Regions from separate parts of the Homo sapiens genome. Here regions 1, 2 and 4 are each linked to region 3. Evidence: promoter capture Hi-C in 16 types of primary human blood cells and fetal thymus (Javierre and others, 2016). All regions are on one chromosome and are shown on one strand. The core of a region is centred on a gene start or on the middle of the fragment in contact, and the rest is flanking DNA. Distances in the headings are between cores, read along the strand shown. Region 1 overlaps RPN2 (ribophorin II). Region 2 overlaps GHRH (growth hormone releasing hormone). Region 3 holds the start of NNAT (neuronatin). Region 4 overlaps RPN2 (ribophorin II).

What was found. The method cuts DNA at HindIII sites, captures the fragments that hold promoters and counts their contacts. A CHiCAGO score of 5 or more calls a contact.
Region 1: a fragment that was not itself captured here is called in contact with the fragment with the promoter of NNAT in region 3 in 7 of 17 cell types (monocytes, M1 macrophages, M2 macrophages and 4 more); the score reaches 8.2 in monocytes.
Region 2: a fragment that was not itself captured here is called in contact with the fragment with the promoter of NNAT in region 3 in 8 of 17 cell types (M1 macrophages, endothelial precursors, M0 macrophages and 5 more); the score reaches 10.5 in M1 macrophages.
Region 4: a fragment that was not itself captured here is called in contact with the fragment with the promoter of NNAT in region 3 in 17 of 17 cell types (monocytes, naive CD8 T cells, activated CD4 T cells and 14 more); the score reaches 20.5 in monocytes.

The regions. Positions count from the first base shown.
Region 1 is chr20:37,217,798-37,223,844 of GRCh38, reverse strand. All of the region lies in intron 9 of RPN2 (ribophorin II), which reads right to left. Among named protein-coding and RNA genes, the nearest start is that of GHRH, 41 kb to the left of the region's middle. The HindIII fragment of the contact is 3,903 bases long and covers 1,727-5,629 here.
Region 2 is chr20:37,247,668-37,253,373 of GRCh38, reverse strand. GHRH (growth hormone releasing hormone) reads left to right here. Exons shown (of 5, transcript NM_021081.6): 5 at 2,143-2,288. The coding sequence ends at 2,161. Among named protein-coding and RNA genes, the nearest start is that of GHRH, 11 kb to the left of the region's middle. The HindIII fragment of the contact is 1,281 bases long and covers 1,894-3,174 here.
Region 3 is chr20:37,516,922-37,523,386 of GRCh38, reverse strand. NNAT (neuronatin) reads right to left here and starts at 2,137. Exons shown (of 3, transcript NM_005386.4): 1 at 1,984-2,137; 2 at 949-1,029; 3 at 1-720. The coding sequence starts at 2,055. The coding sequence ends at 628. It overlaps BLCAP (BLCAP apoptosis inducing factor), which reads left to right. Exons shown (of 2, transcript NM_006698.4): 2 at 4,037-5,970. The coding sequence starts at 4,213. The coding sequence ends at 4,476. RefSeq lists enhancers at 3,065-3,928, 3,929-4,792. The HindIII fragment of the contact is 15,256 bases long and covers 1-2,578 here.
Region 4 is chr20:37,196,714-37,203,194 of GRCh38, reverse strand. It overlaps RPN2 (ribophorin II), which reads right to left. Exons shown (of 17, transcript NM_002951.5): 3 at 4,703-4,798; 4 at 3,970-4,145. Among named protein-coding and RNA genes, the nearest start is that of MROH8, 20 kb to the right of the region's middle. The HindIII fragment of the contact is 680 bases long and covers 1,917-2,596 here.

The DNA of each region.
Region 1 (6,047 bases), core at 2,429-4,928, 300 kb after region 3:
AATTGGTGGGTGTTCAGGAATTCACATGCAGATATAAAGTTTTCTATTCTTTAAGGTGAGTAAAGGCATGAAAAAATCCTAGAACAAGAGTCTTCAAGGATGATAATAACACTGACCCAGCCCAGTAATATTTCCAACCTCTCCCATTCCGAGGCCTAAAATGTCTTTTTCTGGCTTTGGATGGATGGTAAACATCAAAAAAAAAAAAAGAAGAAGAAAAAGGAAAAGAAAAAAAGTAAATCTTTTCATGTGTCCTTTAAAATAAATAAGGGGAAAAATCCTTAAGCAGTACCTTTCATTCAAATCAGCAAGAATTGGGTTCTAATGATAGCTAGGATTTATTGAGTGCTTACCATGTGAAAGGCACTGGCTTTGTAAAGACTATCTCATTTAATCCTCACAATTCTGTAAGGTACTGCTTTTCAGATAAGGAAATAAAAGATGAGAGAGATGAAGCTGCTTTGCTCAAAATCAGACTGTGAGGAAGTGATCAGGCCAGTGTCAAGCTCAGGCACTCTGACTCAGAATCCATGCACTTCAGCTCCTTGTTAGACAGTCATGGTAGTTATCTGTACTGTTGCCCAAGTACTTCTCATTCTCCTTCTGAGCATGTGGTAGAATTCTACTTCCCTGCCCCCATGGAGTCAAGTGTGGCCACATGATTTGCTCTGGCCAATGAAATGTGGGCAGAAGTGAAAGCTTTAAGAATCAATGTGTGATTCTCTCTTTTCCTCTGACATGGACACAATGTCCAGATGCTTGCTCCTTCAGCCAGGGTCCTGGAGCAAAGATATCATGAAGCAGAGCCTCCAGTTGACCACCTAAAGAATCTAGCGTGGGGAAAAAATAAACCCTCATTGTTTTAAGCCACTGAGATTGGGAGTTTGTTATAAGCACAAACCAATCCATGTTGACTCTTAAAGTGTTTGAATTCTGTATGTCCCTTAAACATCTTCACAAAGAGGGGCTAATGCCAATAAATGAGAAATTTTAAAATTAGATTAAAATCAATGTAAATATCCAAAAGAGACAGAAAACATGTTAAATTTCTGAATTAAAACCCAAGTTTGAATGTGCAAATTATGCAAACCCAAGGCGCTTTTATGTGCAAACAGATCTGTAAGCCTTCCAAATATTTGATAGGTTTGAATGTAACACTTAAGGAAATCCTTGCCAAATCCACTGGTTTATAGTCTAAGTCAGGATCAAGGAATAGAGATAACGGGCTGGGCAAATAATTGAAGGATAGCTCTGGCAGTTTTCTGAAATACCATATCGAGGTGTGACAACCTCAAATCAAGGGCAAAGAAGAAAAATTAAAAATAAAGATACCTATCAAGTAATTCCTTCTAACGGCCTTCTTTCCTGCCTCTGTAATAACTATTTTATGACAACAGCCTCAATTATCATGTTGAATAGGGGTGTTGTTTTGCTTTAAAAAAAAAAACTGTAAAGGTTTATTACCAGAAGCTGTAAGGATATTACCATCTACTTTTGAATTCACAGCCACCTATGAATTCATAGCAGAACTATATTTAGGATCATTGCCTGTCATTGAGTCTAGGCAACTGGGTGAAATTATGGCAGTGGAGGAGGAGGGACGATGGCCCATCAGGTTGAATAGACACCCCCAAGAAGGGAGCTAGGAGCCTCACTTTGGCTCTTTGGGCTCTCTGCTGAGTTAACAGCGTTACAACTCACGCAAGGCTCAGAACCAGAGCAAGCTTTCTTGCAAAAAACACAACCCGACAAGTACTGACATCATTTCCACTGGAAAACAAACTGGAATGGAAGGCTCAGGCAAAGAAGTAGCCACAGAGCTTTGATTTGACACCTGCTGAGAGCACTTTCCCCATTCAGGGAATATACAGAGATGGCAAGAAATCCTTCCTGTCCCGTACACAAACCATAATTATAATAAACCAGGTTGCTGCTTTAATGGATGTACAAAGTGTTATGAAAGCACAGAAGGAACTGTGACCCAAGTCTGCCCATGGGTGGCCCCAAATGGGGAGTAGGAAACATTCCATAGCAAGAAGACTGAGGAGGAGGCTTGATGGGCTTAGCAGCCCTCCAATTTTGGGAGAGGTAGGAGGATTAGCAATAATACTCCATGCTATAAAAATAATCTGTCTTCAGAGTTAACTACTCTGCAATCTTCATCAAGATTAACTAGGTAATTCCCTATTTCTCTAACTCATTCTCTTAAGAACTCATTCATTTAATCTGTAAATGTGATCTTGAAATCATCATCCTACTGAAATGTCCATAAACAGAAGACTAGCTAAATAAAGAAAGATACATGCATATTATTAATTACTATGGAGCAATTAAAAAGAACAGACTAGGCCGGGCGTGGTGGCTCACGCCTGTAATCCCAACACTTTGGGAGGCCGAGGCAGGAGGACCATTTGAGGTCAGGAGTTTGAGACCAGCATGACCAACATGGCAAAACCCTGTCTCTACTAAAAATACAAAAAAATTAGCCAGACATGGTGATGCACGCCTGTAGTCCCAGCTACTCAGGAGGCTGAGACAGGAAAATGGCTTGAACCCAGGAGGCAGAGGTTGCAGTGAGCCAAGATCATGCCACTGCACTCCAGCCTGGGCAATAGGGCAAGGCTCCGCCTCAAAAAAAAAAAAAAAAAAGAATTGTGTAAAGTCTTCAGTGTCTCCTAATGATAGTGATAAGGAAGCTATCAGCTTTTAGGTTTTCACTTAGAATCCTGGCTGTAAACTCTCAGCACTAACTGGCCACCAAGGCCAGCTAATCAGGATCCAGCTTCGTGTGTGTTCTAAAGACATCCTGAGCATCCCCAGACAATGCAGATACATGGAGTGAGCAAAGGGCAAACTGCAGTGAACTTGCATCATTCTTGGTTTGCTCTCAGCCCCAATTTTAAAAGGTTTCCTAAGTTACAGCTTTCATTGTTGCACATAAACACCCGTAGGGCTGTTCCTAAATAGGGAACAGTTTAAAACAAATCCTTCTGCTCCTAAAATCTCACTATAAATGGGTCTCTGGAAACACTCAAAAGCAAAGCATTTTTATGCTACTCTTTTAAAGCAAATTTAGAAATAAAAATCGTAACTTTTTCCAAAGCCCTCTTTTAAAGAGTTCAGTGTAGGATCCCTGTTGATTAGCTGCTTCTTCCTTCCAACTAACAATGCAGGATTCGTTTTTATAATAGGAAAGGGACTTATTTCTCCACTTTAAATGCAGCTAAGCCTGCTTTACACTGGATCATGCTATTCCTTTCTTTGCCTGCACCACATGCCATATACATCTCAAAAAATGTTTTAACGCCAGGAAATGCAGTCTTTCTGCTGGGAGTAATAACACCCCTGTTTAGCTTATTACTGTCAAAAATGATGGTGCATTAGGGGCAATTAATGCTAATGAGAGCGTCCAAAACCGATGCTTCCCCTGACAGCCAGTCCAATGTCAATGAGGGCTATTACAGGACTTCCACACCAAACCACCGTTAATGCACTCTGACCAATGTCGAGCATTTCTTGGGAGGACAAACAGGACCCAATGACCTGCTCTGAGGCTCTAAGTGTGATTATTACTGAAATTACAAAGAAAAGTTGCATATACGGCAAAGGTCAAAGCCGACTCTCTCTCTCTCTCACACTCACACACACACACACACACACAAACACACACACCTCTAATGTAATAAGGAGGAAGAGAGAAGATTTTGTAATGCTTACTCCATCACTAGGGAGGAAAAGGAGAGTAAATGGCCTCAATGGGGGCTTATTATCATTGCATGAACAAGAGCTATTAGCCATTTCTGCTATTTTGTACTTAGATAATTTTTCCAACAATCACAGAAACACTTGGACAAACACCAGATTTGATGTTACAAAATGCCAAGCTGTTACAGTAATCAAGACAGCGTGGCACTGGCATAAGGACAATACAGATTAATGAAATAGAATTATGAGTCCAGAAATCAACCCTTACATTTATTGTCAAGTGATTCCTACAAGGATGTATGTGCCAAGGCAATTCGTTAGGGAAAGAACAGCCTTTTCAACAAATGGGTCTAGGACAACTGCAAAAGAAGACTGGACCCCCTACATCACACCATACACAAAAATTAACTCACAATGAATCAGAAACCTAAGGGTAGGAGCCAAAAGTATAAAATTCTTTTAAGAAAACATAGTAGTAAATCTTCTTAACCTTGGATTACATAATGGCATCTTAGACATGACACCTAAAGCACAAACAACAACAACAAAACATTTTAAAACTGGACTTCATCAAAATTAAGATTTTTTGTGCCTCAAAAGACAACATCATGAAAGTGAAAATACAACCTTCAGACTGTGAGAAAATATTTGCAAATCATGTATTTAATAAGGAACCTCTAACCAGAGAAACCCTTACAACTCAATAATATAAAAAGATAAATAAAAGGAAATAAGAGGTGTATAGATTGTAGAAGGAAGAAAAAAAGACCAAAAACATTTTTTTCAATGGACAATGGATTTGAATAGACATTCTTCTAAAGAAGATATGCAAGAGACCAATAAGCACATAAAGAGATACTCAACATTATTACCTATCAGAGAAATGGAAATCAAAACCATAATGAGACACCACTTTATACCCACTACGATGGCGAAAATCAAAAAGTCAGATAATAACAAGTGTTGGTGAGGATGTAGTAAAATTGGAACCCTCACACATTGCTGGTAGAAATGTAAAATGGTGCAGCTGCTTTGAAAACTTGTTAGTTTCTTGAAAAGTGAAACACCGAGTTACCATATGACGCAGGAATTCTATTCCTAAGCATATACCTGAAAGAACCAAAAACAAGTGTTCAAACAAAAAGTTATATACAAATGTTCACAGCAGCATTACTCATAAGAGCCAAAAAAGAGAAATACCTCAAATGTCATTAACTGATAAGTCGGTAAACAAAATGTGATATATCCATACAATGGAATATTATTTTGCCATAAAAAGAAATAAAGTACTAATACATGCTACAACATGGATGAACCTTAGAAGTATTATGTTAAGTGAAAAAACAAAAAAGCCAGACACAAAAGGTAACCTATTGTATGATTTCATTTACACAAAATGTCCCAAATAGGCAACCACAGAGACAGAAAGCAGAAAGTAGGAAGAGAGAATGAGGAGTGCCCACTAAAAGATATAGCATTGCTCTCCAGGGTGATAAATATATTCTGGAATGGCATTGTGGCAAGGGTTGCACAAGTCTGTGAAAATACTAAAAACACTGGATTGCATAGTTTTGTTTTTTTTGTTTTTTTTTTTAGCAGAGACGGGGTTTCCCCATGCTGACCAGGCTGGTCTCGAACTCCTGATCTCAGGCGATCCACCTACCTCGGCCTCCCAAAGTGCTGGGATTATAGGTGTGAGCCACTGCGCCCAGGCTTTTTGTTTTTTTGAGACAAGGTCTCACTCTGTTGCCCAGGCTAGAGTGCAGTAGTGTGATCATAGTTCACTGCAGCCTCAAACTCCTGGGCTCAAGGGATCCGCTTGCCTCAGCCTCTTAAGTAGCTGGGACAGGTACATGCCACCATACATGGCTAATTTATTTTTAAATTTTTGGTAGAGATGGGATCTCCCTGTGTTGCCCAAGCTTGTCTCTAACTCCTGGGCTCAAGCGATCCTCCCACCTCAGCCTCCCAAAGTTCTGGGATTACAAGCGTGGTGGCTCATGCCCAGCCTGAATTACATACTTTTAATTGGTAAACTTTATGGTATGAGAATTATACCTCAATAAAGCTGTTATTAAATCAATAAATAAAAGCTAACTCTTGGCCGGGCCTAGTGGTTCACATCTGTAATCCCAGCACTTTGGGAGGCCGAGGCGAGGCAGATCACCTGAGGGTCAGGAGTTTGAGACCAGCCTGGCCAACAAGGCAAAACCCCGTCTCTACTAAAAATACAAAAAAATTAGCCAGGCATGGTGGCGTGTACCTGTAATCTCAGCTACTCAGAAGGCTGAGGCAGGAGAATCACTTGAACCCGGGAGGTGGAGGCGGAGGTTGCAGTAAGC
Region 2 (5,706 bases), core at 1,285-3,784, 270 kb after region 3:
AAGTTCAAAAAACTATCAAGCCAAAGACAGACCAGCCCTCCCACACCCTGTGGTAGATGAGTGTGCGCAGACACACGATCAGCAGACGAGAGACGTGATGACTGTCGTTCCCCAGCTCACTGGCCCTCACGTTTCTCCTGGGAGTCTACAGAGGAGGAAAAGTGAGGCAAAGACGGGGCGGCAGCTGGCCCCAAGTCAGGGAATGGCAGGCCCAGACCTGTTTTGCCTCCCTGGAACTTCTTTGCACAAAGCCCCCACTTCATGGGCAAAGTTTCCCAAAAATGTCGTGGTTGTTTGGAGAAACTCTGCTGGGGTTTAGAGCCTGATTTGTTGTTGTTGTTGAGATGGAGTTTCACTCTCATCACCCAGGCTAGAGTGCAGTGGCGTGATCTCGGCTCACTGCAGCCTCTGCCTCCAGGGTTCAAGTGATTCTCAGCCTCCCGAGTAGCTGGGATTACAGGCGCCTGCCACCATGCCTGGCTGATTTTTGTACTTTTAGTAGAGACAGGGTTTCACCATGTTGGCCAGGCTGGTCTTGAACTCCTGACCTCAGGTGATCCACCCTCCTTGGCCTCCCCAAGTGCTGGGATTACAGGCACCCGCCACCACGCCCGGCTAATTTTTTGTACTTTTAGTAGAGATGGGGTTTCACCATGCTGGCCAAGTTTGTCTCGAACTCCTGACCTCAGGTGATCCACCTGCCATGGCCTCCCAAAGTGCTGGGATTACAGGCACCCGCCACCACGCCCGGCTAATTTTTTGTACTTTTAGTAGAGATGGGGTTTCACCATGCTGGCCAAGCTTGTCTCGAACTCCTGACCTCAGGTGATCCACCTGCCATGGCCTCCCTAAGTGCTGGGATTACAGGCATGAGCCACCGCACCCGGCCTAGAGCCTGATTTAACTGCGAGCACAAGCAGGTCCCAGTGTGGCTCTGCTGGGCACTTCTGGTCCAAGCTATTAAGCAAATCCAGTTCCCAGCAGAGCGCTCCATGGCCTCTCTCACCTTCTTCCCAACCCGATTAGACACCACCAGCCCAGAGATTTCACCACCTACAAGCAGCACCAGGCCTACGGCAGATGACAGGAGAGGCGACAACCAGTCTGGGAGGCGGGAAGAACACCTGGGCCCCAGGCCTGTTTCTGCAACTAGCGGCACAGCAACACACTTCTTCGTTTCGACTCTGTGAAAGGAGGGGTTAGCTCTTACCATCTCTAGGGTCCGCAAGACAAGAGTTCAAAAATAATGTCTCTAAGAAGAAGGCCTCCTCTGTGCCTTGCAGGCTGGGATTAAGTAATTGTTCACCTGCTATGGCTCTCATCAGGCCCCAGTAGGGTGGATGGCTCCATGGAGGGCTAATCCTAAGAATGCAGGCTTTGTTCCCGCGAGTTAAAAGCCAGAGGCTTCACGGAGATTGAAATCACAGAGCCCGCAGAGCTGGCAGGAAGGGCCCCGAAGGCTGCTATAGCCATTGTTCCCCCTCCAGCTCAACTGCTGCAAATACCAGGATATCACTGGTGAGCAGGAATAAGTTCCTGCTTTAGAGTGCAGAGTAGAGCCATGTGACAGATGGCACACTTTTGCAGCCATCATACATTGTGTCCACGTAACAGCCCTGTAAGGAAACTGAGGCTCGGGTTTAGCCATCTTCCCACCCCTGTAAAGACCATCCAGTGACTATGACATGCCACACTCTGGACCAGAGGCATAGCAGGGTACAGGACAGCAGCGACCCCTGCTCTCATGGAATTCATAACACACCGAAGCAGCAAGGAACTAGACACGTTCTTGTACAGTCAATTACTTCATTGTGATGAATGGGAAGAGATGCTGGGGAGTGGTGATGGTGAGGCTGGGAGAACGCTGAGCCTGTCTGGGGATTAGAGGAAGCTTCTTCAAGGCGAAGTGACTGGCCCAGGGTCTCGGTGGGAGTTGGCTGGCAGAGCAGAGAGCAGGGGCTAAGCCTGGGACTCGCCTTGCTGGCATGCTTGCGCATCCTTCCCTCCACCCCACACTGCCTCTTTTGGAATCCAAAAGGCCAGCTCCTGTCACGGGAGCACCCGTCACCCTGGTTCCATGCATCCCACTCTAGCCACCCTTACTTCAATTCCCCGGATTGAGCTTGATCTTTCTTTCTGCAGCAGGAACTCCCAGGGATGAAGATTCCTCCTGTGACCCGGGCTACCTGTAGCCAAAATGCAACTGGATCCAGTTAATCCTCTCATTTCTGACCCACTTTTTCCTTTGAAAATACAATAAAATTCCCCCATACCGGTGTGCATTTAAATGTTCTTTTCTCTTCAGCCTAATTTTTTATGTGTTTTACATAGTTACATTTCCCAAAGTGGTATTACGAGGTGTAATTTTTTTTAAAGCTAACATTTACCAAGCACGCAGAGTGCAAACCAGGCAGCTTCATGCATAGGATCTCATATGCTCCTTACACAGGCTGATGGAGGGTACTGGTATCCTCCTCCTTTCACAGACAAGGAATTGAGGCTCAGAAAGTGTAACCAAATTGCCCACAGTCACACCGTGCAAATGAGAGCGCTGGGATTCAAATCCAGGCAAGTCCAACTCAGAACCAGCTCTTAACCACATTCAACTAACTTCGATCAAAGTCATCCTTCACCCACGTGTGATTTGCTCTTCTATAAGCAATACCACTTATTGATTCAACAAACTTTTTTTTTTTTTTTTGAGACAGAGTTTCACTCTTGTTGCCCAGCCTGAAGTGCAATGGCATGATCTTGGCTCACCACAACCTCCGCCTCCCAGGTTCCAGTGTTTCTCCTGCCCTCGCCTCCTGAGTAGCTGGGATTACAGGCATGTGCCACCACGCCCAGCTAATTTTGTATTTTTAGTAGAGATGGGGTTTCTCCATGTTGGTCAGGCTGGTCTCAAACTCCTGACCTCAGGTGATCTGCCTGCCTCAGCCTCCCAAAGTGTTAGGATTACAGGCGTGAGCCACTGCACCCGGCCTTCATTCAGCAAACATTTATAGAATACCCACTCTGTGCCAGGTACTGTTCTGGGCACTGGAGAGATAGTCATGAACAAAGTCCCTGACCTTATAGAGCTTATATTCCAATGCGTGTGTGGTGGGGGAGAGAATAATAAACACAAGTCAATATAGAATATGTCAGATGTTGGCAAGTGCAAAGGATAAAGCTTTAAAGGGCCAGGGAGTGCTGGGGGTATAATTTGATCTACACTGTGTATATGTGAAGGCCTCACTGATGATGTGACATTTGAGTAAAGACCTGAGGAAGAGAGGGAGTTGGCTTTGTAAATATCAGAGTAAAGAACATTTCAGGCAGAGTGAAAACTCAACAAAGGCTTAGAGGCAGCAGTGTGGAAGGACTAGCAAGGGGATCAATGTGGCTACCTGGGCCAGAGCAAGGATGTCAGTGGAAAGAAAAGAGTCCTGGAGGAGCAGGAGGCCGGCTCATGGGGACACTTGGAGGTGTTAAAAAAAAAAAAAGGAACAAATTGACTCTTTAGTGTTTTTTTTGTTTGTTTGTTTGTTTGTTTTTTGAGATGGAGTCTCACTCTGTTTCCCAGGCTGGAGTGCACTGGCACGATCTCGGCTCACTGCAACCTCCACCGCCAGGGTTCAAATGATTCTCCTGCCTCAGCCTCCCGAGTAGCTGGGATTACAGGCGTGTGCCACCACACCCAGCTAATTTTTGTATTTTTTTAAGTAGAGACAGGTTTACGCCAGGTTGGCCAGGCTGGTCTTGAACTCCTGACCTCAGGTGATCCACCTGCCTCAGACTCCCAAAGTGCTGGGATTACAGGTGTGAGCCACCACCCCCAACCCAAATAGAGTTTTAAAGATTGAATTGGCTTTTGTTAGCAGTTCATGAACTGGGCAGCATCCTGAGGGGGACTCTGATAAGCTGAGTGGGAGTGGGCCTTACAGGCAAAAAGGGGCTAAAGAAGCAGAAACAGGGCACGAAAAGCAGATTGGTCATTTCAAAGTTACCTTCCTTCTGGGGTTAAAGCAGAGGGGACTTCCTGATTATGCAAGCTAAAGTAGACTGGACCCCTTCCTTTTTTTTTTTTTTTTTTTTTTTTTGAGACAGAGTCTTGCTTTGTCACCCAGGCTGGAGTGTGGTGGCATGATCTCAGCTCACTGCAACCTCTGCCTCCTGGGTTCAAGTAATTCTCCTGCCTCAGCCTCCCGAGTAGCTGGGATTACAGACATCTGCCACCACGCCTGGCTAATTTTTGTATTTTTAGTCGAGACAGGGTTTCACCATGTTGGCCAGCCTGGTCTCGTACTCCTGACCTCAGGTGATCCACCCGCCTCAGCCTCCCAAAGTGCTGGGATTACAGGCGTGAGCCACTGTGCCTGTCCCAACTGGACCCCTTCTGATTGGCTGCTGTGAATCTCATATTTCAGAAAACTGGACCATTTTAAAGTTCTGTTTGATGACATGGCACTTAGTATGTCATGGGTGACTCTATTCTGGTTGGGTCTGGTTTGTTGGGGCCCGCCTAGTGCAAGAGCTCAGTTCAAAACAGCGGCCTCCCATAAATGTTCTTTAACAAGGTCACAGTAAGGATTTGGATCCCAAACTTGGTGAGATGAAAGCCATGGTGGAGTTTAAGCAGAAGAATGACATGCTGTGACCTATGCTGAAAATCACTCTGAGAAATGGTCAAACTCTAGATACATTCTTAGGGCGGAAGCCATTTGCTGATAGACAGGGTGTAGGGATTGGAGAGAAGTCAAGAATGACTCCTGAGTTTTTGGCCCAAGGATGGAGGATGGGAGGATGGAGTTGCCACTTAGCAGCTTTGGGGGTTGGGGGAATATTAAGAGTTTAGGTTTGAATGTTGAGTGTGAGGTGCCTATGAAAGGTCCAAGTGAGGAAGTTGAGTAGGCACATGGCTGTACAGGTCCTAGTTCAGGAGAGAGTCCCCTGAGTTCAGGGGAGAGGTCTGGACAGCTGGTTTGGCTGGTAGTTGTCACCATTTAGACGGTCGGTCTTTAAAGTCAAAAGACTAGTTAGATTACTAAGGAAGAATATAGGAAGAGTAAAGTCCAGGGACTGATCCCCTGGAAACCCTACATTTAAAGTTTAGAAGAAGGCCGGGTGCAGTGGCTCACGCCTGTAATCCCAGCACTTTGGGAGGCCAAGGCAGGTGGATCACTTGAGGCCAGGAGTTCAAGACCAGCCTGGCCAACATGACGAAATCCTGTCTCTAGACTAAAAATACAAAAATTAGCCAGGCATGGTGGTGCACGCTTGTAATCCCAGCTACTCAGGAGGCTGAGGCAGGAGAATCACTTGAACCTGGGAGGCGGAGCTTGCAGTGAGCCAAAATCACACCACTGCACTCCAGCCTGGGCGACAGAGCAAGACTGTCTGAAAAAAAAAAAAAAAAAAAAGTTTTGAGGAAAGATGAGGAACCAGCAAAGGAGGCTGAGAAGTAGCAGGCAGTGAAGTAACAGGAAAACTCCTTCAAAGAAGAATCCCAGAAGCCAATGAAGAGTGTTTCTAGAAGAAAGGGGTGATCTGCTCTGCTAAATGCTGCTGATGGGACAAGTCAGTTTAGAACTGACCATGGAAGTGACCATGGAAGCCACTGATGACCTTGGCAAAGAGAAATCAGGTGTAGTGAAGGCCAAAGTCTGATTTGAGTGGGAGAAATGGGAGAAGAGGAATCAGAGCTGGTGAGTATAGATTTGGCTG
Region 3 (6,465 bases), core at 888-3,387:
ATTATTTTGGAGTAGGGTGGGCTTGGGAGGCAGTGAGGAGGAAAGGGGAATCGAGAGAGCAAATGCAGCGAGGCTGGAATGCAAGTGCCCTGGGCAAGGGACAGCGAGAGGGCCCCACTGTATTTCTTAACCACCCTCCTTCCTCAACTGTGCCCTCCAGTCCCGCCACACAGGCACGCGGTTGGTGCTGCACCAAGATTCAGGGCGTCGGCTGGCGATGTCAGAATGTCCATTCTGCTGGCTGGTGCGGTGTTTTGATTTCCATGGTGGGGCCTGCTGGCATGGCCCTGGCTTCGGGGCTGGGATGGTGCTGTCCCGACTTTGTCCAGATCAGAATGCGGTGCCTATGCCCAGATCTCAGGGGTCTGCTCCCCCTATCCCCCCTCCTCTCTCGACCCTGCCCCTTAGTGGGACCGGTGCAAAGGGGTTGGGAAGGGATCTGGTATCTTCGTCATTGTCGGTACTGCTTCTCCGGGGGTCTACTGGCCCCTCACTGACCTTGCCAAGTGCTCCTCTGGCGAGGGAACACAGGGGACCCCACATTCCTGCGCGGCACTGGCTCCCGTGCTGGCCGAGATGCACAGGAGCACCTGATGATACGGCCGCCCAGGGCTGGGAGCTGGGGCCTCAGTTGGGGGCTCGCTGCCTGCGCTCCCCCAACACCTGCCGCCCGGTCCGCGACACCGTGTATGCCAGCTTCTGCAGGGAGTACCTGAACACCTGCGACGAGAAACCCAGGACCCACCCTTAGTGGAGAGCACCCACAGCATGTCTGTGGTGCTGCCGTGCCCACCCCCGCCCCACCCCCTGCCCCGCCCGCCCATCCAGCGTAGGCTGGAGAGGCGGGCGCGGGCGCAGCTTGTCCACGAGTCAGGGCAGCTGGAGCTTTTCCAACTGTGCTGAGAGCTGCATGGCGGCAAGCTGATTGGACCCACAACTTAGGTATACCTCACTTCTCGCAATGGGCTGTGTCCCTGGAGGATTTCGAAAAGCGAATCCTACCCAGTAAATGCAGCATTCCAGGAACACCTTGAAGGAAATATGCGATTCCTTTGGCAAAGGATTCCTTTAGCAGGGAATTCTTCCTGCAAAGGGAGCTTTTAGGGTAAATGATTTTATGGGCAAAGCGCTTTCTTCTGATTTATCTCTTTTTACACCAAGCGCTTTTGCCTCTTTTTTATTTTTTTTATTATTATTTTTTTTTTTGTAAAGCAATTGTCCTTTTTTGGAAGTGCTTTTTTTCCCCTTCTATTTTTCTCTCGAGGGGCTTTTTCCTCTAATTTTTTTCTTTAAAGCGTTTTTGCCCGATCCATTTTTTTCCGTTAGCTCCCTTGTCTAATTTTTTTCTGCAGTGCGTTTTTAATCTAATGCATTTTTTTCTGCCAAGTGCTTTTCTCCGATTTATTTTTCCTGCAATGCGCGTTTTTCTGTTTTCCTGTGAACTACTTTTTCTCTAATTCGTTGTAGGGTTTTTTTTTTTTGCGAAGTAATTTTTATTTTTTCTGAGAAGTGCCTTTTTCTAACTTATTTTTTGTTCCACCCCCGCAAGCGCTATATGTTTTTTTAAATAAAATTTCTCCGCAATGCGCAATTTTTTAAGGTGGAAAATTTTCACTCTGCGAGCTGTAAAGTCTTTCAACACAGTAGTGCCCCGCCTCCCTCCTGGGGTCGAGTCCGGGTGTAGCGGGTTTTTCTTACCGCGTAGGTCGCTAAATGCCTGGGTGATCGTCCGCAGCGGTCGCCCGCCGCGCCCCGAGTCTTTGTTCCCTGGCAGGCGCGGGCGCACTAGGGAGGGTCAGCGCGAGGAGGACGGCGCAGGGAATGGGCAGGGGGCGCGCGGTGCCGGCAGCGGCACTTGGGCAGGCAAGGATCGCGGCAATCGGAATAGGACGGGTCCGGGAAGCGGCAATCGCGACGCAGTCTTGCGGGTTCTAGGGGCGCGAGTTGGGAACCCTCTCCCACCCGAAACCCCGTCAGACTTACCTGCAGCAGCACGCGGAAGATGTACCAGCCGATGATGAGCAGTTCAGCCGAGGCCGCCGCCACTGCCGCCATGGTTCCAAGAATGGTAGGTGGGTGGTCGAGAAAGAGGGTTTGCCGAGATCCGCTGGTCTCGGAGTCCGCTGTTGGGCGCACTGCCGCAGCCGCGGTGGCCGCGCCTTAAGTACCCGCCCGCCACCTAAGTGCGCATGCGCGCCTTGGGGGGTGTTTATGAGGAGGGGTGGCTGGGGGCGCTCCTCATTCGCCAGGAGAGGAAAAAAATAATCCATCTGCTCTTTCCATACCGACCCCCGCCTCCTGAGTTCCATCTTAGCCCCCTTCCAGAAGATTCCGCCGTGCTTGCTTTTGGATTTTGCTTTAAAATGGAGGGGTACCACGACTCTGGGTAGAGTACAGGGCGAGAATGGGGGTGCAGGTCTCTTAGTGTGGCGCCCTTCTCCCCAGTCCCTGGCCTGCAAATTTGAGCTCAGTCTCCGGTGCCACTCCAAAGCCTACCTTGGGGATGGATGGAAAACCGAAATTAGGGAGGGGTCATCTGCCCCATAGAGCAAAAAACGTGGTGCCCCTTTCAGAAGCTTTGGCATAATAGGCCCGTGCTCGGCGCTCTTTTCCTGATACTGAATGAGTTTTAAGCCCAGGTCCTCTGCTTCATGAGGGTGCCTGAGCGCGTAACCCGTCTGATTCTTTACATCTCTCTTACGGTAGCGAGGAGATGAGAATCTGCGGTGGAGGTCGCTACTGTAGGGAGCTGAGCCAGAGCACTGCGCTTTGGGCGCAAAAGCAGTAGTCACCCGGTATCTGTAGGAGGGATACAGGAAGGATTGGCGCCCTTCGTATGCACGGAAGGAATGAGCTCTACGGAGAAGTGGTTGGAATATGCTTGGGGATAGTTTTCTGCTGGACAGGTCGTTTCGACCTCAGTCTTCCGCTCCCCTCCCCCAAGCCCTGGTAGGTCGGCCTTAGCCAGTGGGGTTCTTTGTACCCGTTGCGCTGTGCGGCTGGATCACCGAACGGGGTTACGCTACCGCTACCGGAGGGTTGTGGCTACCGCAGCCCCGTTTCCAAGTGAGGCGGGTCCCTTTTAGACCGCCAGTCTTGTGGGTCCCTCGCACAGCGCGGATTTTCGGGCGGGAAGACCGGAATGCGGTTTGTGAGTGTGGTCCCCGCGCACCGGTAGCCAGCCGAAAGCACCTCTTTCCAGCAAGCTGCCTGGCCCAGGGACCAACTGGCATTTGCCCCTATGTGGATAGAAAATTAATTTTCATTAAAAGCTCCCAGAGGTCAGGTTCTATACAGTGCCAGCAGCAGATGGAGGTGTAATGATCCAAACGAGTTCAGTTTGGACAAAGTAGCATAGTGACTTTTTTTCTACATTGACTTTCGGAGAAGTTGGCAGATTCTGGCAAAGTGACGCTGGGCTGTTTGAAAAAGGCAAGCTTAGCCTAGGCTGCCATCTTAAAATATTTCGAGGCTGTAGCTGCCTCAGGATCCTTTGCCTGTGGTCTGGTGGCCGGCAGTGCCCCGCTAACAGCTTTAACTCTGCACTTAGTGCCTGAGCACCTATGGCTGTGAGAGATGCTAGATACAGAACCCTGTCCTTACCACGTGGGGGCACAGCAGGGAGCCCTTGGTCGTCCTTTGGCAACCACTGGGCGGTATTGTGAGGTCTGGGCCCCTTGAGGACGGGCTGCAGCCCCAGGAGGCGATACATGATCTCTGCTGGGCAGGGCCCAGGCAAAGCCAGCCCACTGTGTGAAACCGTGCCAAAGAGCCCTCTCCCCGATCCCCCAGGAGAAGCCCCGGGGAGACATCCCAGGAAGCTTCCCGAATTAGTGACTTGGAGAGGAGTAGAACTTTCACGGGTGGGCAGGGAGGAAAGGGCATTTCACATTTGCTGTTGTTAACCATGATCCATTTTCCCAAATAAGTATACATTCTGTTCCTGTTTTTTTTTTTTTTTTCTTTTTTTTTTTTTTTTTTTGTCTGTCTGTCTGTTCTTTGTCTGTTTGTCTGTTGTGTTGACTTTTCTCTTCAGGATCCCTGCTGCCTTGGTGATCCCGGGCTGACAGCCAGAGAGCACAGCGGCTCAGCTCCTGGAGAGTGAGGGTTGAAGAAAGCGGAGGGCAGCCGCCTGCGCCCGCTGGCTCCCATTAGGTCGGTTCCTGCAGCGGTGCCCGGCAGCCTTGGTGAAGGCCCTGCCCGGCAGAGATCATGTATTGCCTCCAGTGGCTGCTGCCCGTCCTCCTCATCCCCAAGCCCCTCAACCCCGCCCTGTGGTTCAGCCACTCCATGTTCATGGGCTTCTACCTGCTCAGCTTCCTCCTGGAACGGAAGCCTTGCACAATTTGTGCCTTGGTTTTCCTGGCAGCCCTGTTCCTTATCTGCTATAGCTGCTGGGGAAACTGTTTCCTGTACCACTGCTCCGATTCCCCGCTTCCAGAATCGGCGCATGATCCCGGCGTTGTGGGCACCTAACGGCCTGCCCTGTTAGCTTTCCAAGGAAGCAGAAGACGGGAGGGGAGGCATTGACATAGGTCATAAAGCATTGGAGTTTCAAATCCCGCAGCCTCGCGGGTGTCACATTCCTGACGGCGCCTTTTTGGCCTGTGATGTTTTATCCTTACAATGTGAATAATGGCACTGACCGGTGCTTTTATTGTAAAGTCCTATAGTCGTGGGTGGTCTTGTGGTTGTGTGTGTTCTGTCCCCATCTAGGTCCTGGCTGGCCGCATGACCACCCCTCTCGCCTCATTACTGTGAGGAGTCTGGGTCCATCCTGGTCAGCTGCCCCAATGTGACCTGGGGCAGATAAAATGCCAGTCTCATTGTCACCTCTGTGACCCCTCCTTGTCAGGGTCTCCTTCCTTCCCAGAATGTTACTGACTCCTCAGTCCCTCTTCTGGTTTCCCTTTATTTCTCTTCTACCCTTTTCCTTTTTTGGGGAGTACCTGTCCAAGACAGGGCTCATTTTTGCACTTATCTCGAATTTGAAGAGATTGCTGACGCCCGAGAGCCTCGCTTTTTCATCCTTCTTTCCTTGTTCAGCAGGCTAGACAGAAACATGTCTTGACTGTTAGTTGTCCACAAATCTTCAGTATTTTCTCCACTTCATTTTTAAGAAAGGAAGCAACAGATAGATGTTGCTCTTTCACCTGGGTGTCTGGGCTCAAGCTTTCCCGCCCAGCCTCACTTCCTTTGCCCTTCCTCCTGCCTTTCTCAACTGTCCCAAGGAGGGGGCCTCATTGTGTCTCCCGTGCATGCTCTGCAGCATTGAAGTATGGTGTGTTCACGTAGTTCTAGCAGTCCCCAGCTGAGTGAGTGGGAGAGTACCTGTGTGTTTCGTAACGGCCTTGATCCCCTTGATAGATGTTTGGATATTTTTTGGTGTGCCCTGTGTGTGTGTGTGTACAAATACATGTGTATATTCCTTTTAAAGAAGCTTTATCGAACGTGGTCTGATTTTGAGGTTTAGCAATAGCTAGCTATATATGGTAGGTGCCGCTACAGTTTTTATTTAGCATGGGGATTGCAGAGTGACCAGCACACTGGACTCCGAGGTGGTTCAGACAAGACAGAGGGGAGCAGTGGCCATCATCCTCCCGCCAGGAGCTTCTTCGTTCCTGCGCATATAGACTGTACATTATGAAGAATACCCAGGAAGACTTTGTGACTGTCACTTGCTGCTTTTTCTGCGCTTCAGTAACAAGTGTTGGCAAACGAGACTTTCTCCTGGCCCCTGCCTGCTGGAGATCAGCATGCCTGTCCTTTCAGTCTGATCCATCCATCTCTCTCTTGCCTGAGGGGAAAGAGAGATGGGCCAGGCAGAGAACAGAACTGGAGGCAGTCCATCTAGGGAATGGGACTGTGAGGCCATACTTGTGAAACGTCTGGACTGCTATTCTAGAGCTTTTATTTGGTGTGTTCGTTGCACAGCTGTTTGAAATGTTTAATAAAGCTTTATAAACTTTACTTTGTGGTTTTATGTGGCTGCAGTCCATTTGGGTCGTGGTGTTGGATTTCGGAGTTGGTGGGGGGCAGGGGGAAGCATGGAGGGGCTGAGTCTTTGGCGCCAGAGTACCTTAGCCTGAAAATTTGATCTGCTTTCTGGAGAGCAGATGGTGGGGATGGGGGAGGGGGAGCAGGGGGCAGGACAGGCGGTGAACAGGAGGGAGTCTGAAAGTTTTCAGAGATGAGACATTTGCGTTTCTCAGCTCCCATGGCTTCTTGCCTGAAATTGTTTCCCTCCATAGGAGATTTGAGTAACCGATCCCTTGACAAACAACTTAAGACAGCTGGAGCTCTAATCATCAAGGATTTTTATGGTGCTGCTTTTGAAGTAAAAATAGTGAAACCCCTTATGGCATTTCAAGTGGAAAAATAAATAAGACTGGCTGTCCAACCAGCCGGATGTAAGGTGATGGCTGGAAGTGCCGAGAGTGGTGTGGTTCCATGTTGTAGGTATGC
Region 4 (6,481 bases), core at 1,007-3,506, 320 kb after region 3:
CCAATACTTTGGGAGGCCGAGGCAGGAGGATCACTTAAGCCTGGGGGTTCGAAACCAGCCTGGGCAATACAGTGAGACCTCATCTTTACAAAAAATTTAAATATTAGCTGGGCATGGTGGCACATGCCTATAGTCCCAGGTACTCAGGAGGCTGAGGTAGGAGGATCACTTGAGCTAGGGAGGTTGAGGCTTCAGTGAGCTGTGATTGCACCACCGCACTCAGCCTAAGTGACAGAGTGAGACCCTGTCTCCAAAAAAAATAGATAAAACCCACCGAGCAGTTTCTCCCCATTGTGTCTCCCCTTAGCCCTCAGCAACCAGCAATCTATGTTCTATCTCTACGGATTTGCCTATTCTGCTATTTCATAGAAATGGAATCATACAATCTGTGTCCTTTTATGTCTGGCTTCTTTCACTCAACAGAATGTTTTCAAGGCTCATCCATGTTGTAGCACGTATCTGCACTTCATTCTTTTTTATGGCTTATTCATATATTTTTATCTATAATTCTGGAAGATAAGCTTTTTAAGATGGAACATGATAGATGTATACATGTAAGACTTATTAGATTCTATTATCTTAATACAGATAATTTGGAAAATATAAATGGTGCTTTTCTGGGTGAAACTGGGAGAGGAGAGGCCCCCTGGTGGTTAAACAGATTGCTGCTTCCACCCCGAATGGTTTCCTAATTCCTAAGAGATGACTGGGCCCTTGTGTAAAACCACCACTTATCAAGTCAATATGTCAGGGAATGTAGAGCAAGAATCTGTCTGCTTATGTCAAGAACATAACAATTTAGATTCTCTCCATGGGAAACTCATTCCATTAAGATGACAAGTTGGAAAACAGCAGAGTCGCAATTTACAGAGAGACAAGCCCCAGAGTATTCAACGACACCTATGGGATGCTTGCTGTTATCATACACTTGAGAAAATGAAACCTGAATTTCCAAACAAGACAAAAATCACACATCTGCCCGTGATAAACGCTGTGCTCAGAAAAGGCAGTTAAGATAGCCTAGAAAGAACTTCTCAATTAAGATATCATTTTTTTCTCTTTGGAATGAGAGAGTGCCGTGCTGGTAACAACCTCAGAAGTTTTAGAATGAAATTAATCCACTGAGTTTTAGAAAGTTTTGTCACTGGCTTTAATTACTTATTCCCCAGCCAGCAATTTCTTTTTCTCTGGAGCATAGTACTGTATTCGAACACTAAGAAAGCAGATCTTATCTTGCTAATATATAGCAGATGATTCAGAGAAATTGATTTATGACAGACTACAATGAGATCTTCTCAGGTGGTTCATTCAAATCTACAAGTATTTTCTTTTTTTCCATTCAAGACAAGTTTACAAATATACACTTCCTAGAAAAAGCCCATTTAAATATAGAAGGCCCATTCAGAAGAGTTCTAATTTATATCAGCTTGCCTTTAATAGCGCAAATTAGTAGTAATATAAGGCAACCTACCAGTTGGATTTCACAATGACCCTACGAGACATTCTCCAGGTTTGCATATGAGAACACTGAGGTTTAGGCGGGCTAAACAACCCACTCATGGTCACAGAGGTTGAGTAGAAGAATGGATTTGAACACAGTTCTTTCTGCTCCAAAGCGTATGTTCTTCCTACCTATGAGCTTTCTACAAGACAACAGAAACACAAAAGTATAGTTTCATCCTTTATTAACTCCGTTGGGTACAGACCATGTGCCAGGCTCTCTAAGCACTGCAAGTAAAGCTTATGGCTGGGTGTGGTGGCATGTGATTATAGTCCCAGCTACTCAGAAGGCTAAGGTGGGAGAATCGCTCACGCCCAAGAGTTTGAGGTTGTAGTGAGCTTTAAATATGATCGCATTGCACTGCAGCCTAGATGACACAGTGAGACCCTGTCTCAAAAAAAAAAAAAAAAAAGCTTATGACCTAACATACAAATAACAACAACGAAGGAAGTAACAAACTCTCTAAGAAGGGGGACCTGTTTGTTAGGGACCTAACAAACAAATGGTCCAGAAAAGGAACTCCGTTTCCTACACGCCCACCAAGAACCAGGCACTGCGCTAGGGTCTTCACACCTATTATCTCATTTAATCCTGTCAGTTGCTTTGATGTAAGAATTATGGGTTTCATTTTAAAGGCAAGGCTCAGAGAAGTTAGAAATTTGGCCAAAGTCAGACACAAGGAATGAAATAGCTGGTGTTCAAACCTAAGTCTGTCTGACTCCAAAGTGGACGTACTTCCCTTGTACTTCTTCCTGGGGTTCTGGGGTTTTGAGGAAGGGGATTTTCCCTTCTGCTTGGAAGGAAATGGGAATTTTTTTTGTAGAAGGTAGCATCAAAGTAAGGCACAGGCACTAACAGTGGCATCATGGCATGAGATGATGGTGACTGGAGAAGCATTCCCCATGAGGGATTAAAAGCAGATATCAAAATATGTCACCTGAAATCAAAGGCCCAAAAGGGCCAAGCACTGGACAAAGTGTGTACAAAATGTCAGCCCTAGAGTCACTGATGATTGACCATGTGAATATAGGGAGGGTGTGAGGAGGGACAGAGAGGGAATGTCAATTGCCTGTGAACCCTGTCCTTAACAAAGCTTTAAGTTTACAGAAAATCTGGTTGTCAGCAAAAAAACAAAAAACAAACAAAAAAACCTGGGAAACAATCTCACTGTTTTGAAAGGGGGATTTGGTATCACCAACCTCTTGCTAAACAACGAACGGGATTCCAGAACGGTGCTCCACACCCTCCTTCAGGGTTTGCAGTGAAACGGTGAACACAAATAAAATGACAAAAAAAATATTGTTTTAAAGGAGCAGTTTAAGTGTTAAAAAAAAAAAAATTACAACCGGCCTGGACAACACAGACAGGCCCCATCTCCACTAAAAACTAAAAAAATTAGCTGGGCAGCCGGGCGCTGTGGCTCACGCCTGTAATCCCAGCACTTTGGGAGGCCAAGGCAGGTAGATTGCTTGAGGTCAGGAGTTCAAGACCTGGCCAACATGGTGAAACCCTGTCTCTACTAAAAATACAAAAATTGGCCAGGCGTGGTGGCGCGCCTGTAATCCCAGCCACTGAAGACGCTGAGGCAGGAGAACTGCTTGAACCCGGGAGGCGGAGGTTGCAGTGAACTGAGATCGCGTCACTGCACTCTAGCCTGGGTAACAGAGTAAGACCACGTCTCAAAAAAAAAAAAAAATTAGCTAGGCGTGGTAGTTTGCACCTGTAGTCCAGCTACTCGGGAGGCTGAGGTAGGAAAATCACTTGAGCCCAGAGTTCAAGGCTGCAGTGAGTTTGATCATACCATTGCACTTCAGCCTGGGTGACAGAGTGAGATCCTGTCTCTAAATAAATAAAAATTTAAAACTACATATATTATCACTTAAGAGCTTAGCAAAAAACACCCTGAAGTTACAATATTTCCATTTATAACAAATAGGAAAGGTGCTTCTCCTTCACCTAAGCCTTTTGCAGAGTAGTAGAGTCTGATTCCTAGAATACTCCACCCTCTGAGCAACCACCTCACCCACCAGATGCTGTCTTTCACAACTTCCAGGGATCCTGAGAGCCCCCACTTTGCAGAGCCTCCACTGCCAACATGTCATCCTGCCCTAGCCAAGCCTCAACAAGACATGCACGTGGCTCCTTCTCAGTTATCTGCCCTTGCTCTAGCCCTCCAACCGCACAAGGCAACTGGATCTCTAGGTGGTGGTGTGCTCATGCTCTGGCTCAGCGCTTGCCTTCTGTCTGCGAGGCTTGCAGAAGACTGTGTCCATGTGAGCTCCACGAGGACACGGACCTTACTTGCCTTCATGCAATCATGTCTGCGGTGCCTTGCAGAGCACCTGGCACACGGAAGTATTTACTGCAAGTACTTGCCCAGAAAGTATTTGCTGAACCAATGAATGAGCCCTCTTCGGATAGGACCCGAGACAAATGAAGCCTGAGAAATGCTCGAGATGACAACTCACGCCAGCACAGTCTCCTCCTTGCTGAGACGAGCAGTAAGGGCACTGAGTGCTTCTTGGGATGCCAAGGGAAGGCCAAAGCCACTTAGAGCTGCAACTGCATGGTAGATCTGGGTAACAGATGAGTCCTCACTGACAGCTGCCAGAAGCAGATCTTTGGTCTCATTTGAAATAGAGATCTAAGAAAGAATTGGCAGACACAGAGTTTTAGAACAGGTCTTGGCAATTTGTGGCAGGCATGGCAAAGACAGAATGCGGAGCAGCTGCCAAAGTCACCTCCGCCTCGCACATGCTCATCCCCCTCTAATCCCCAGACACCAGGATGAAATGTTTGCAAAACTTCGGTACAACACTCCCATGTGAAAAGATGCTGACAAGTTACCTTTCTACTTATATGGTTCTCCTATGTTCAACAAAATGACTTCCAGAAACCTCGTGTGGGGGTACACTTTGAACATTTTTACGTGTTAAAGGCAGATGGAAAGGAAAAAATCAAGACCTACCAGAAGAAAAGCAAAAACTGTACAAAAAGGTTATTTAAAACCCTTGAAAAGTAAAAACTTAGGAGAAACATAAACTATACTTTCTTAAGGAAAAAAAAAATCACAGGAATGGAATTCCCACTCACAATAATGGACTCTCATAATTAAAAAAAGGATGTTTGACATGACTCCTCCCCTTTAAAAATGTACTTTAAATAGTTAAAGTCATTGTCAGCGTAGGAACCCGGACTCACCTCACATCCTGAGAGGGCCTGGCTGGCCTGGGCAGCGTAGAAGAGGGAATCCACATTGCTGGGATCAAGGTTAGATCTGATGTAGGTACATGCTTTCTACACAGTGGGGAAAAGTCAATGTTAAGTGGTGACACATGTAGTGAACCAGGAAAAGCAAAGGCGTTTTTAGATAACATTCTCAGCCATTATAGATGGCTTAAGGAATGAGCTACATGAATTTAGTTAAGTAGTTACTTTCCATAGGACACGGTATTACCCAAAATTGCTCACTTCGTACAAAGAGCAATAAGCCTGAAGGCGCTTGAGTCCTTCCGAACCTTAGAAAGGAAAGAAGGAAACCACTTCCCGGATCACCTGTCTGGCCATGGACTGTGCTGGGTATTTAGGAAGCTCTTCCTTTTAACAACATGATCCTTTGGTAGAGATTATCACTATCCCCATTTACCTGAAAAAGAAACTGGGGCTCCAAATTGGCAAGTAACCTGATGAAGGTGACAAAGCTACCAAGTGGCAGTCTCTTCTGATTCCAACTTTACTGGCATCTCCACTTAGATGTCACCAAGGCCAAGTCAGGCTCAACAAATCTAAAATGAGCTTAACGCTGGGTGCAGTGGCTCACATCTGTAATCCCAGGCCTTTGGGAGGCTGAGGCAGGACTGCTTGAGCTCAGGAGTTGAGACCAGCCTGGGTAACATGGTAAGACCCCATCTCCACAAAAAATTCAAAAAGTAGCAGAGCAGGTGGCGCATGCCTGTGGTCCCAGCTACCTGGGAGGCTGAGGTAGGAGGACTGCTTGAAGTTGAGGCTGCAGTGAGCCATGTTCATGCCACTACACTCCAGTCTGGGAGACAGAGCGAGACCCAGTCCCCCAAAAAAATAAAAATAAAAAAGAAAATGAGCTTAAAACCTTCTATTTCTTCACCAGGACTTCCCAGCTCATGCACAGGTAATACCATGCATCCAGCAACCCAAACCAGAAACATGGGAACCATCCTTGACTTTTCCCCACCCTCCAAGCCTATCAAGTCTACCTCTTTTTCATTTCTCAGGCCCAGTCCCGCCTCTGGTTTCTGTCACTGCCTTACAGCAGGCCCTTGCCATTTCTCACCTACATTGTCCCAGTCAGTCATCTCCTAAGCGGTCTAAAGCCATGCAATCCATTCTGCACACTGCTTCAAGACTGATCTTCACAAAATACAAGTGTAACCGTGTTGCTTTACCTTTAAAACCCTTCAGTGGTTCCCTGTTTTTCTCAGACAAGATCCAACTTCTGACACAGCATGAAATGCCCTCAAGACTGACCCTCCCTCTCCATGCTGCCTGCATCACCATAGCCCTAACTCCAACTCCAAAATCTTACCCTCTAGCCTCCTGCAGCTATACCACGCTCTCGCCATTTGACGTGTTTGACCCTGCTACCCACCCTGCCGGGAGCACCTTTTCCTTGTCCTTCCTGCCTGCCAAACCAGGTCCTATCTTCAACTCTGCTCAGATGTTCACCTCTTCCTGACAGTCCTCCCAGGAGAGGCCAGGTATCCACCCTCTCAAGTGCTCCCCCAAAGCACGTACCACACTGCACTTACTAGTTCCCCCAGTGACTAGTGGCCCAAGATCAGGGACTTTGCCAAATGCCCATCACAGTGACTGGCACAAAGGAAACACATCACAAAATCGCCAAGCCCCCGCTACTACGACTCTCCTCGACTCCAAGAAACAGTATCAAATCAATAGACTGCCAATATTTTGGCTGAAGTAATATAAAATTCAGCTATTCAAAAA